Regions from separate parts of the Homo sapiens genome. Here all the other regions are linked to region 2. The links are contacts of gene promoters, found by promoter capture Hi-C in human tissues and cell types (Jung and others, 2019). All regions are on one chromosome and are shown on one strand. Each heading gives the region's core, a stretch centred on a gene start or on the middle of the fragment in contact. The rest is flanking DNA. Distances are from core to core; before and after follow the strand shown.

Region 1 (2,986 bases), core at 178-2,677, 340 kb before region 2:
AGCAGGGTTGCCCTGGAATTGGGCATCAGTTCCTGAAACACTCCCAGCTTCCATAGCCAGCAGATAAGCAGCCTCTCTGTCATGGTCATTGGAGAGCCCTGTAGGCTGCTACCTGCTCTCTGGGCCCAGGGTCAGGAGGCTTGTATGTGTGTCAGGCAAACAAGAATGTGTGTTGAGCTGCGAGGTGGGCTACCCGGCTTGTCTGTGGTCCCTGTAGGAGCCCTGGGTTGGGTAGTGGCTTCAGTGGTACCTGTGAAGACTTTGTCATCTCTGAGGCTGTTGGACCTGCGACTCTTTGGAAATCCATTTCTCCACCTTTTTCATTTTGTTTTGAATGCTTGTCTCTGGCCTCTGGGTAGTCAGATCACACTCTGCCCAGCTGGAGGGGCTTGCTGGAAGGCTGGAAGCCATTTGCATCACCCCACAATATGACCATGCCCCTGTCCCGGCATCAGGACGCCATCCTCTCGGACTGTGTCTCCCACTCTTCTTCCTGCATTACCTCATTTTCCAGCCTCCTCTCTGCGGTCTGAAGTCCTCCAATCCCAGTGGGGTTCATGAGTGAAAAATCAAGGTTTGAGACAGAGCTCCAGGGGCCTTTGAAAATAGGATGGCTTATGGTGTGTGCTGGTGGTCTCAGTTCCCACTCCCTGAGCAGTTTTCCTAAGTAGAAGGGGTGCCGGGCAATGTTGGGGTGTATCTGTCACCAATTCTGAGTTAGACACTTGCTTCCTGAATCGTCCTGGGCTGGGTCCCTTTGTAAAATGGAGACACCTTTAGTCAGATGTCCCCTGTTCAATCCTCTTGGTCCATCGGCATTGTGGGTCTCCCAGTTGGATTGGTGTGGAGTGATCAGAGTCCAGGTGTCTCACCTCCTCTCCCATTGTGCTTCTCCCTGCAGGATGCTGGCACGTGTGTCCTGGTCCTCAACAACCTTCTGTGAGCCTAGGGACCCATTTCTCCTCCTTTGACAGGGACATCAGTGGAGCCTTCTCAGACCCACAGGTAAGGCCGTCCACCTGTGCAGTAGCACCCTACTTCCCAGAGCTGAGGCCCTGCAGGCCACCCTGGCCTTTGGAGTTTGAGGGTACGGAGACTTTATTGCTGTTTCCCTTTTCCCCTAAAAACCGGACTATTGTTGGGCGCAGTGGCTCACACCTGTAATCCCAGCACTTTGGGAGGCTAAGGCAGGAGGATCACTGGAGGCCAGGATTTCAAGACAGCCTCGGCAACATAGTGAGACTGCATATCTCTGAAAAAAAAAATTAACTGGGTGAGGTGCCACATGCCTATAGTCCCAGCTACTGGGGAGGCTGATGTAGGACGATCACTTGAGCCCAGGAGTTCGAGGCTGCAGTAAGCCATGGTCGCACTACTTCACTCCAGCCTGAGTAACACAGTGAGACCCCGTCTCTTAAAAAGACACTATAAACCTGACTTTATCTGATTAATGTGGGGTAGATTGTATTTATTGATTACGCTTTTGCAAATATTGACTTCTTTTCACTAAATACGAAAGACCGATGTTCTGCCTCTGGTAGCTTTCGATTCCAAATAGGATAAAAACTGCTTGGGTCAGCCTTTGAGGCCCCAACGGCTGCTATTCTCCTGTTTATAGAGCACCCCAGAGTGGCTCTTTTCTGTTTGCTCTTGAGGCTTAGCCTGGCCTGCTCTACCCTTAGTACATGGAAGAGGACAGGCAGGAGTTATGCTTCTTCTGTGCCTTGGCTGGGAAGCTCAGGCTCTGGCTACTCGCTGGCTTTGGCAGAGAGCAGAGGCTGGGCTGCTGCCTTGCTCAGCTGCCCGCAAGTCATGGTCAGTGGCCCAGAAACAAGCATGAGTGTGGTTTTTAATGCACCATCCCTCTGGATGTACAGTGAGAAGCCAAGGCTGAGTGGAGGGTGGGCCTGAGCCTCTGTCTTGAGTCTCAGGGAGTGCCAGGTCTAGAGATTGAATGGCCCAGGGAGTAGCAGTCTCTCCCCTCCCACCCCCAGCTGGCAGCAGGAGCCCCTGGCCTCCCAAGCTTCTTTCCATTTCGTATTTCTTTGTCTCAGGCACAATCCCTGGCCTTGGCCCCATTTTCCATGCCAAGGCCTTTGTTGGGTGGAACAGGAGGTAAAGTGATTTTTCCTTCTTTTTTTCCTAAATGTTGATGAACCCTTCTCCTGTTCACTCATTGGCTAGTTTCAGCTTTGGAGGCACGGAGGATGGATGTTCCATCAAGGGAAGCTAGCAAAGCTGAGGTGAGGATGCTGGTGGGGGTAGGTTTAATGTACCCAGCCCCTGCTGCATGGGGCTAAGTCCCACAGTAACCATGAGCAGTGCCTGTTAGGGTCCCTTTTTACACAGGAAGCCGAGGCTCAGAGATGGCAGATATCAGCTCCAGGTTGCACAGCTAGTCAGTGGTGGGATTGGGATTGGACCCCGAGTCTAGACCTGGAAGCACATGGCATGGTTTTTCAAATTTGGCCTGTGACTCACAGGGCCCTTGGTTCAGCCCAGGCTCAACTGTTACTTGCTGTCTGATCTCGGGTAAGTCCCTTCCCTTCTCCGGGTGCCCTCATCCTTGCTGGGAAGATAGGGCACGTTGTGATGGGGCCTCTTAAGTTGCCTCTGTGGCTCCGTAGTTCCAGGCTGGCACCGTGGACTGTTATCTTCTCTAATTGCTCATTCTTTTCAGTTGCTGTGAAAAGGCCTCCAAGTGCTAAGAAGAGAGAGTGCTATGTTGTATTTTTTGTTTTTCTGTTTTGTTTTAATTCACTTTCCAAGGTGTCCCAGCTACTGGGAGTGGATGTAGGGGAGGGCACATAGTAACACTCAGCCCTGACTTGCAGCTTCTCCAGGGGTCACTCGGGTTCTGCGGGGTTGGGGCCTCGTGGTTGTCCTGTTGCCAAAGGTCTTGGCTGCCAAGTCGAGGCAGGGCCCGGTGAGAGCTCTTCTGCCCTGCATGGCCTGAGCACTGACATTGCTCTGAGGGACGCTGCTT
Region 2 (3,106 bases), core at 53-2,552:
TGGAAGGCCGAGGTGGGCAGATCACCTGAGGTCGGGAGTTCGAGACCAGCCTGGCCAACATGGCGAAACCCTGTCTCTACTAAAAACACAAAAATTAGCTCGGCATGGTGGTGGGAGCCTGTAGTCCCAGCTATTTGGGAGGCTGAGGCGGGAGGATTGCTTGAACTCGGGAAGCAGAGGCTGCAGTAAGCCGACATTGCGTCACTGTACTCCAGCCCTGGGGACAGAGCCAGACCCTGTCTCAAAAATAAATAAATAAGAATGATGAATAAATTACAGTTGCTAGTCTTAACAAGGAAAATGGAATTTGGAGTCAAGGGATTTCAAGTCCCAAGGCTTGAATTCCAGTGTTGGGTTAGCCCTTCATTCATGCACTCAACAAATAATTTATTGAGCGCCAGTGGCTGGGCCACAGACCTCCAGGCAAGGAGCACATATTCCACTCCAGGAAAACAGGCAGTAAGCCGAGTACACAAAGGCAGGTCGTCTTACACTGATGGACGCGAACCTTGGGCAAGCCCACTTCCAGACTTTTTGGTACAGTGGAGTTGTGAGAGCTCCTTCCTCTACTCGCCAGGTTGTGTAAATTAAGGACACCCTGAGAGGTAAATGGGAAAGCAGCTCCCCAGACGCCAATCGTCCTCCTTAAACAGTAAGCACCGGGTACGCGCTACTCTGTGGCCCGGGCTGAATAACAAGGTGTTATTGGGTTAAGGAAACGGTCGTGACGCCGTTTTCCTCTAGTGTATTGTTTCACTTTTTTTTTTTTTTTTTTTTTTTGAGACGGAGTCTCGCTCTGTCGCCCAGGCTGGAGTGCAGTGGCGCGATCTCGGCTCACTGCAAGCTCTGCCTCCCGGGTTCACGCCATTCTCCTGCCTCAGCCTCCCGAGTAGCTGGGATTACAGGCGCCCGCCGCCACGCCCGGCTAATTTTTTTTTTTTTATTTTTAGTAGAGACGGGGTTTCACTGTGTTAGCCAGGATGGTCTCGATCTCCTGACCTCGTGATCCGCCCGCCTCCGCCTCCCAAAGCGCTGGGATTACAGGCGTGAGCCACCGCGCCCGGCCTGTTTCACATTTTAAGTAGACACCGTTCTTGAGAAGCAATAGATTTCGACCAATGTGCACCGTTCCCGCGGCGCCCCGCCGCGCCCGGAACCGCTGCTTACCTGGCGCCCGGCAAGGAAGGCTGCCGGAGGGTTCATAGGTGTTTCCTCCGCCCCCGGAGAAGCCCGGTGTGGGCGGCGTCACCTCAGAAACGCCATCGGCGCGCCTGCCCCGAGCGGCGGGGGCGAGCCCGGAGCCCCGGGGCCCCGCGCCCTCGGCCGACCCCCGCCCCGTACTCCAACCGCCTGCCTGGTGCCCACGCGGCGTGCGCCCGCCGGGGCTCGGGGCTCCCCGCCAGGGTTTCCGGGCCGCAGCCCCGCTGCGCTGGTGGGCACTGTTCTTCTGCCTCGGAAACTGGGGGCTCCCAAGTGGCTCAGGCTGCGTATGGACGCTTTTTGCCCACGCCCGAGGCTCCGGCGCTGGAAGGCCTGAAAGAACCGGCTGTTCACCACTACCCAGAGAATGAAGAAGTCAATAAAGGCTGCTGCGCCGCCCCCAGCACTCTGGTTTATGACATTTGAGTTGCTCACTTCCCTATCTTCCATCTTCCCCCTAATAACCGTGAGCTCGGCCGTGCTCGCTCCTGTGTAGCTGGCTCCCAGAACAGGACCTGACACTCGAATGCGTGGAGGCAGAGCCCAGCCCTCGGGGATAACAGTTGCGGGCTACCCTAGCACCTTTGATACTTTAAACCAAGAATCACAGATGAAGAGGGGGAAATTTACTCTTGGGAGCTCCTGAAAAGCAATGAGGAGAACCACGGTACTTTGTCATGACAAAATCTACGATATTCTGGGTTGAATCTAAGCTTTTTCACCTGTTCTTCCATAGTCACCTCTTCATCCCCCTTTCACTCTTCCTAAGATGTGGGAACGGGACTAGGAAAAAATAAGGCTTATCACACTTCAGCCCCGGCTGCCCATCCCTGAATGCTTAACCCATCAGACAGCAACACAATTACTAAATACGGTCGGTCTTACAGGGTTTCAACTTTACTTTTTGGTTGAATATGAAATGCCAAAACATGCCCTTGTGTTCAAAAAATACAATCTGAAAATGGAAAAACAAAATTAAGATTTCTTATTTTGAAGCTTTACTGATAGGCTCATGTTTGGGAGACCAAAGCAATGTCTTAGAATTTAAAATCAAGAAAGCTGGGCGCAGTGGCCTGTAACCCCAGCACTTTGGGAGGCCAATGTAGGAGGATCTGTTGCGTTCAGGAGTTTGAGACCAGCCTGAGCAACATGGTGACACCCACCTCTAAAAAACTTTTTTTTTTTTTTTTTTTGAGATGGAGTCTGGCTCTTGTTGCCTGAGCTGGAGTGCAATGGCACAATCTCGGCTCACTGCAAACTCTGCCTCTGGCCTCAAGCAAATCTCCTGCCTCAGCCTCCCGAGTAGCTGGGATTACAGGTGCCCGCCACCACGCCACCTTTGTTGTATTTTTAGTAGAGATGGGTTTCACTACCTTGGCCAGGCTGGTCGCGAACTCCTGACCTCAGTTGACCCACCCACTTCAGCCTCCCAAAGTGCTGGGATTACAGGTGTGAGCTACCGCACCTGGCCAAAAAATAAATTTTTTTTTAAACTGGGCGTGGTGGTGCACTCCTGTGGTCTCAGCTACTCACGAGGCTGACTTGAGCTGGGAGATGGCGGCTCCAATGAGCTGTGATCATGCCACTGCATTCCAGTCCGATCGAGAGTGAGACCTTGACTCAAAAAAACAAAAATCAGGCCAGACGTGGTGGCTCACGCCTGTAATCCCAGCACTTTGAGAGGCCGAGGAGGATGGATCATGAGATTAGAAGTTTGAGACCAGCCTAGCCAATACAACGAAACCCTGTCTCTACTAAAAATCAAACAAACAAACAAACAAACAAAAACTAGCCACGTGTGGTGGTGCGCACCCATAGTCCCAGCTACTCGGAAGGCTGAGGCAGGAGAATCGCTTGAATGCAGGAGATGGAGGTTACAGTGAGCCAAGACTGCGCCACCTCACTC
Region 3 (3,138 bases), core at 563-3,062, 450 kb after region 2:
GACTCTGGTAACTTCACGAAGTTCAACCTTGCCCACTGTTTAACCTTCTATTGCTCAAAGGAAAGTAAATATTCACCTTTCTTTATTTTTAATGTGTTTATAGGAGTTTAGTAGAAAGAAATGATAAAAGAGCATATATAGGACTTGAAACCAATCTCATGAAAAGCCTCTTGCTAACTAAGTGGACATGACATGGTATGTGTGTGCCGTGCATGTCATCTGGGAGGCCCATATTCTCCCTCTTCTACATGCTGATAGTTGAGGATTTCTCTTCTTTCTGTGAAATACCTCCAGTTTTATGAGCCATTTAACACTAGATACAATTCCCAGATCTTTTGTCTTTGTGGTTTCCTTTATCTGTGCAGACTTCAGTTTTTTTTTTGTATTTCCTTTAAAATGTTTCAGCCTGAGCAAACCACAGCATCGCAGAAGCTGATGTAAGGTCTCCTCGGTTGTTGTTTGTTTTTTTGAGACAAGGTCTCACTCTGTCACCCAGGCTGAGTGCAGCGGCACAGTCATGGCTCACTGCAGCCTCAACCTCTCGGGCTCAAGTGATCCCCTTGCCTCAGCTTCCCAAGTAGCTGAGACTAAAAGCACGTGCCACTACACCTGGCTAATTTTTTATTTTTTGTAGAGACAGAGTCTCGCTATGTTGCTCAGGCTGGTCTCGAACCCCTGGATGCAAGCGATCCACCTGCTTCAGCTTCCCAAGGTGCTGGGATTGCAGGCGTGATTCATCGTTCCTGGCCAGTCTCACAAGGCGCTGGGGTTGCAGGCGTGAGCCACCATTCCTGGCCAGTCTCACAAGGCGCTGGGGTTGCAGGCGTGAGCCACCATTCCTGGCCAGTCTCACAAGGTGCTGGGATTGCAGGCATGAGCCACCATTCCTGGCCAGTCTCACTGATTTTGTTGGTTGGTTTTGTGCAAGAGTCATTGAGTTAAAAATGCCAGGACTGTTCCCCTCCAAACGTGTCTAGTATCTAATTTCAGTGGATCGTAATCAGTCCCAGACTCTTTGGAATAATCTAATGAAATCTACAGATATTTTTTCAGGAAAGTTTACGTGTGCACTCAACAAGGTTCCTGGAACCCATGAAGCCTCCTATTCCCTACTTTTAAGAGCCAGTGGGCTATAGCTGTGCTGCCTAATGTAGTAGCCACCAGCCATGTGAGGCCATTCAAATGTAAATTTGTAGCCAGTTCTGGTGGCTCACGCCTGTAATCCTAGCACTTTGGGAGGCCAAGGTGGGCAGATTGCCTGAGCACAGGAGTTTGAGACCACCCTGGACAACATCGTGAGACCGTCTCTACTACAAATACAAAAAATTAATTGGGTGTGGTGGCACACACCTGTAGTCCCAGCTACTCAGGAGGCTGAGGCAGGAGAATCCTTTGAGCCTGGGAGGCGGAGGCTGCAGTGAGCTGAGATGGTGCCACTGCACTCTGGCCTGGGTGACAGAGTGAGACTGTCTCAAAAAATAAATAAAAATAAAAACCTTAATATGGGAATATATGCGGTCTACATTATTTTCTCTATTTTTGTATATGCTTAAAAGAGGATCGCTTGAAACTGGGAGGCAGAGGTTGCAGTGAGCCGAGATCGCGCCACTTCCCTCCAGCCTGGGCCACAGAGTGAGACTCTGCCTCCAAAATAAATAAATAAATAAATAAATTTAAATTTGTTACATTTTAATTAAAAATTTAGCTCCTCAGTTGCACTCACCACATTTCAGGTGCTCAGTAGTCATATGGTCACCATGATGGGAGTGCAAATAAGAACATTTATATCAGCTGGGCGTGGTGGCTCATGCCTGTAATCCCAGCACTTCGGGAGGCCTAGGTGGGTGGATCACTTGGGGTCAGGAGTTTGAGACCAGCCTGGCCAACATGGTGAAACCCCGTCTCTACTAAAAATACAAAAATTAGCCGGGCACGGTGGCGGAGCCTTGTAATCCCAGCTACTTGGGAGGCTGAGGCATGAGAATAGCTTGAACCCAGAGGCGGAGGTTGCAGTGAGCCAAGATCGCACCATTGCACTCCAGCCTGGGCAATAGATAGAGCGAGACTCAGTCTCAAAAAAAAAAAAAAAAAATTATATCATTGCAGAAAGTTCTGGATAGCACTGGTATAGACACTGTGGTCAAATTATCTTATAATTCAGTAAATAAAAAAAAAAAACTATTCCTTTTAGTCAGCAAAGCCTAGAAATTAGGCTGTAGTTTTTAAGTTATATGTGATATTGGGACTAAATCACTCTCAGCCCCTCAGCTACCCTTAAGTAAGGTCCTGTGGTGAGTTTGGAAGGCAGTAGTTTATTTTCCCTTGTTATGCCCCTTCCTTTTTTCATTAAAATATACTGAGTTTTTGTACTTCTTTTAATTGTATTTTTAAAAATTGTTCTATGAATCCTTTCTGCTTTCAAAGTAATTTGATAATTGGAATGGCAGGAAAGAATCTTATGCCCTGATATTAAAATCAAGCTACTATTTTTATCTTCTAGGTAGCTACTGGGAATAATTTCACAAGTTGTTTCAAAGATAAAATAAGCTAACAGATACAGAAGCACTTTGCAAAACTACACTTTTGACTTACCTTTTTATGGGCTCTGTTTAGTTTCTTTCCCTTGTTATTCAGATAGTTTCTATAAAGTTTATTGTAGAAATTGTAAAGTTTTTATCATTTAGGTTACATTAAGTTATTTGGGCTTGCATTTGTCTGCTTGATTTCATTTTTGTTTCCATTCTTTCCATCTTTTGTTTCTGTAGTCGCTAACTTATTTGTTAACATCAGCCAAAAAAGAAATTGAACTAATGTCAGAAGAGCTGAGGGGTCTGAAATCAGAGAAGCAGCTTCTTTCTCAGGAGGGAAATGATTTAAAGTTAGAAAACGGTTCACTTTTATCCAAGCTTGTAGAATTGGAGGCCAAAATAGCTTTACTTCAGGGAGACCAGCAGAAACTGTGGTCAGTGAATGAAACTCTTAATTTAGAAAAGGAGAAATTCTTAGAAGAAAAGCAAGATGCCGAAAAGTATTATGAGCAGGAACATCTCAATAAAGAAGCTTTGGCTGTTGAGAGAGAGAAATTGCTTAAAGAAATCAATGTTGTACAGGAAGAACTCTTGAAGATAAATGTGGAAA

Evidence for each region. The method cuts DNA at HindIII sites, captures the fragments that hold promoters and counts their contacts. A contact is called where the count stands out against the background at its distance.
Region 1: a fragment that was not itself captured here is called in contact with the fragment with the promoter of CCDC62 in region 2 in 1 of the 25 tissues and cell types used here (bladder).
Region 3: a contact is called between a fragment that was not itself captured here and the fragment with the promoter of CCDC62 in region 2, in 2 of the 25 tissues and cell types used here (lymphoblastoid cells and stomach).

Annotation. Positions count from the first base shown.
Region 1 is chr12:123,108,404-123,111,389 of GRCh38, reverse strand. PITPNM2 (phosphatidylinositol transfer protein membrane associated 2) reads left to right here. Exons shown (of 26, transcript NM_020845.3): 2 at 902-1,005. Among named protein-coding and RNA genes, the nearest start is that of PITPNM2-AS1, 29 kb to the right of the region's middle. The HindIII fragment of the contact is 5,617 bases long and covers 1-2,986 here.
Region 2 is chr12:122,772,768-122,775,873 of GRCh38, reverse strand. It overlaps CCDC62 (coiled-coil domain containing 62), which reads right to left and starts at 1,302. Exons shown (of 13, transcript NM_201435.5): 1 at 1,168-1,302. The coding sequence starts at 1,203. RefSeq lists silencers at 438-732, 1,255-1,464 and enhancers at 935-1,074, 462-1,155. The HindIII fragment of the contact is 10,219 bases long and covers 1-3,106 here.
Region 3 is chr12:122,324,009-122,327,146 of GRCh38, reverse strand. The region is part of intron 17 of CLIP1 (CAP-Gly domain containing linker protein 1); the gene reads left to right. Among named protein-coding and RNA genes, the nearest start is that of VPS33A, 59 kb to the right of the region's middle. The HindIII fragment of the contact is 8,257 bases long and covers 1-3,138 here.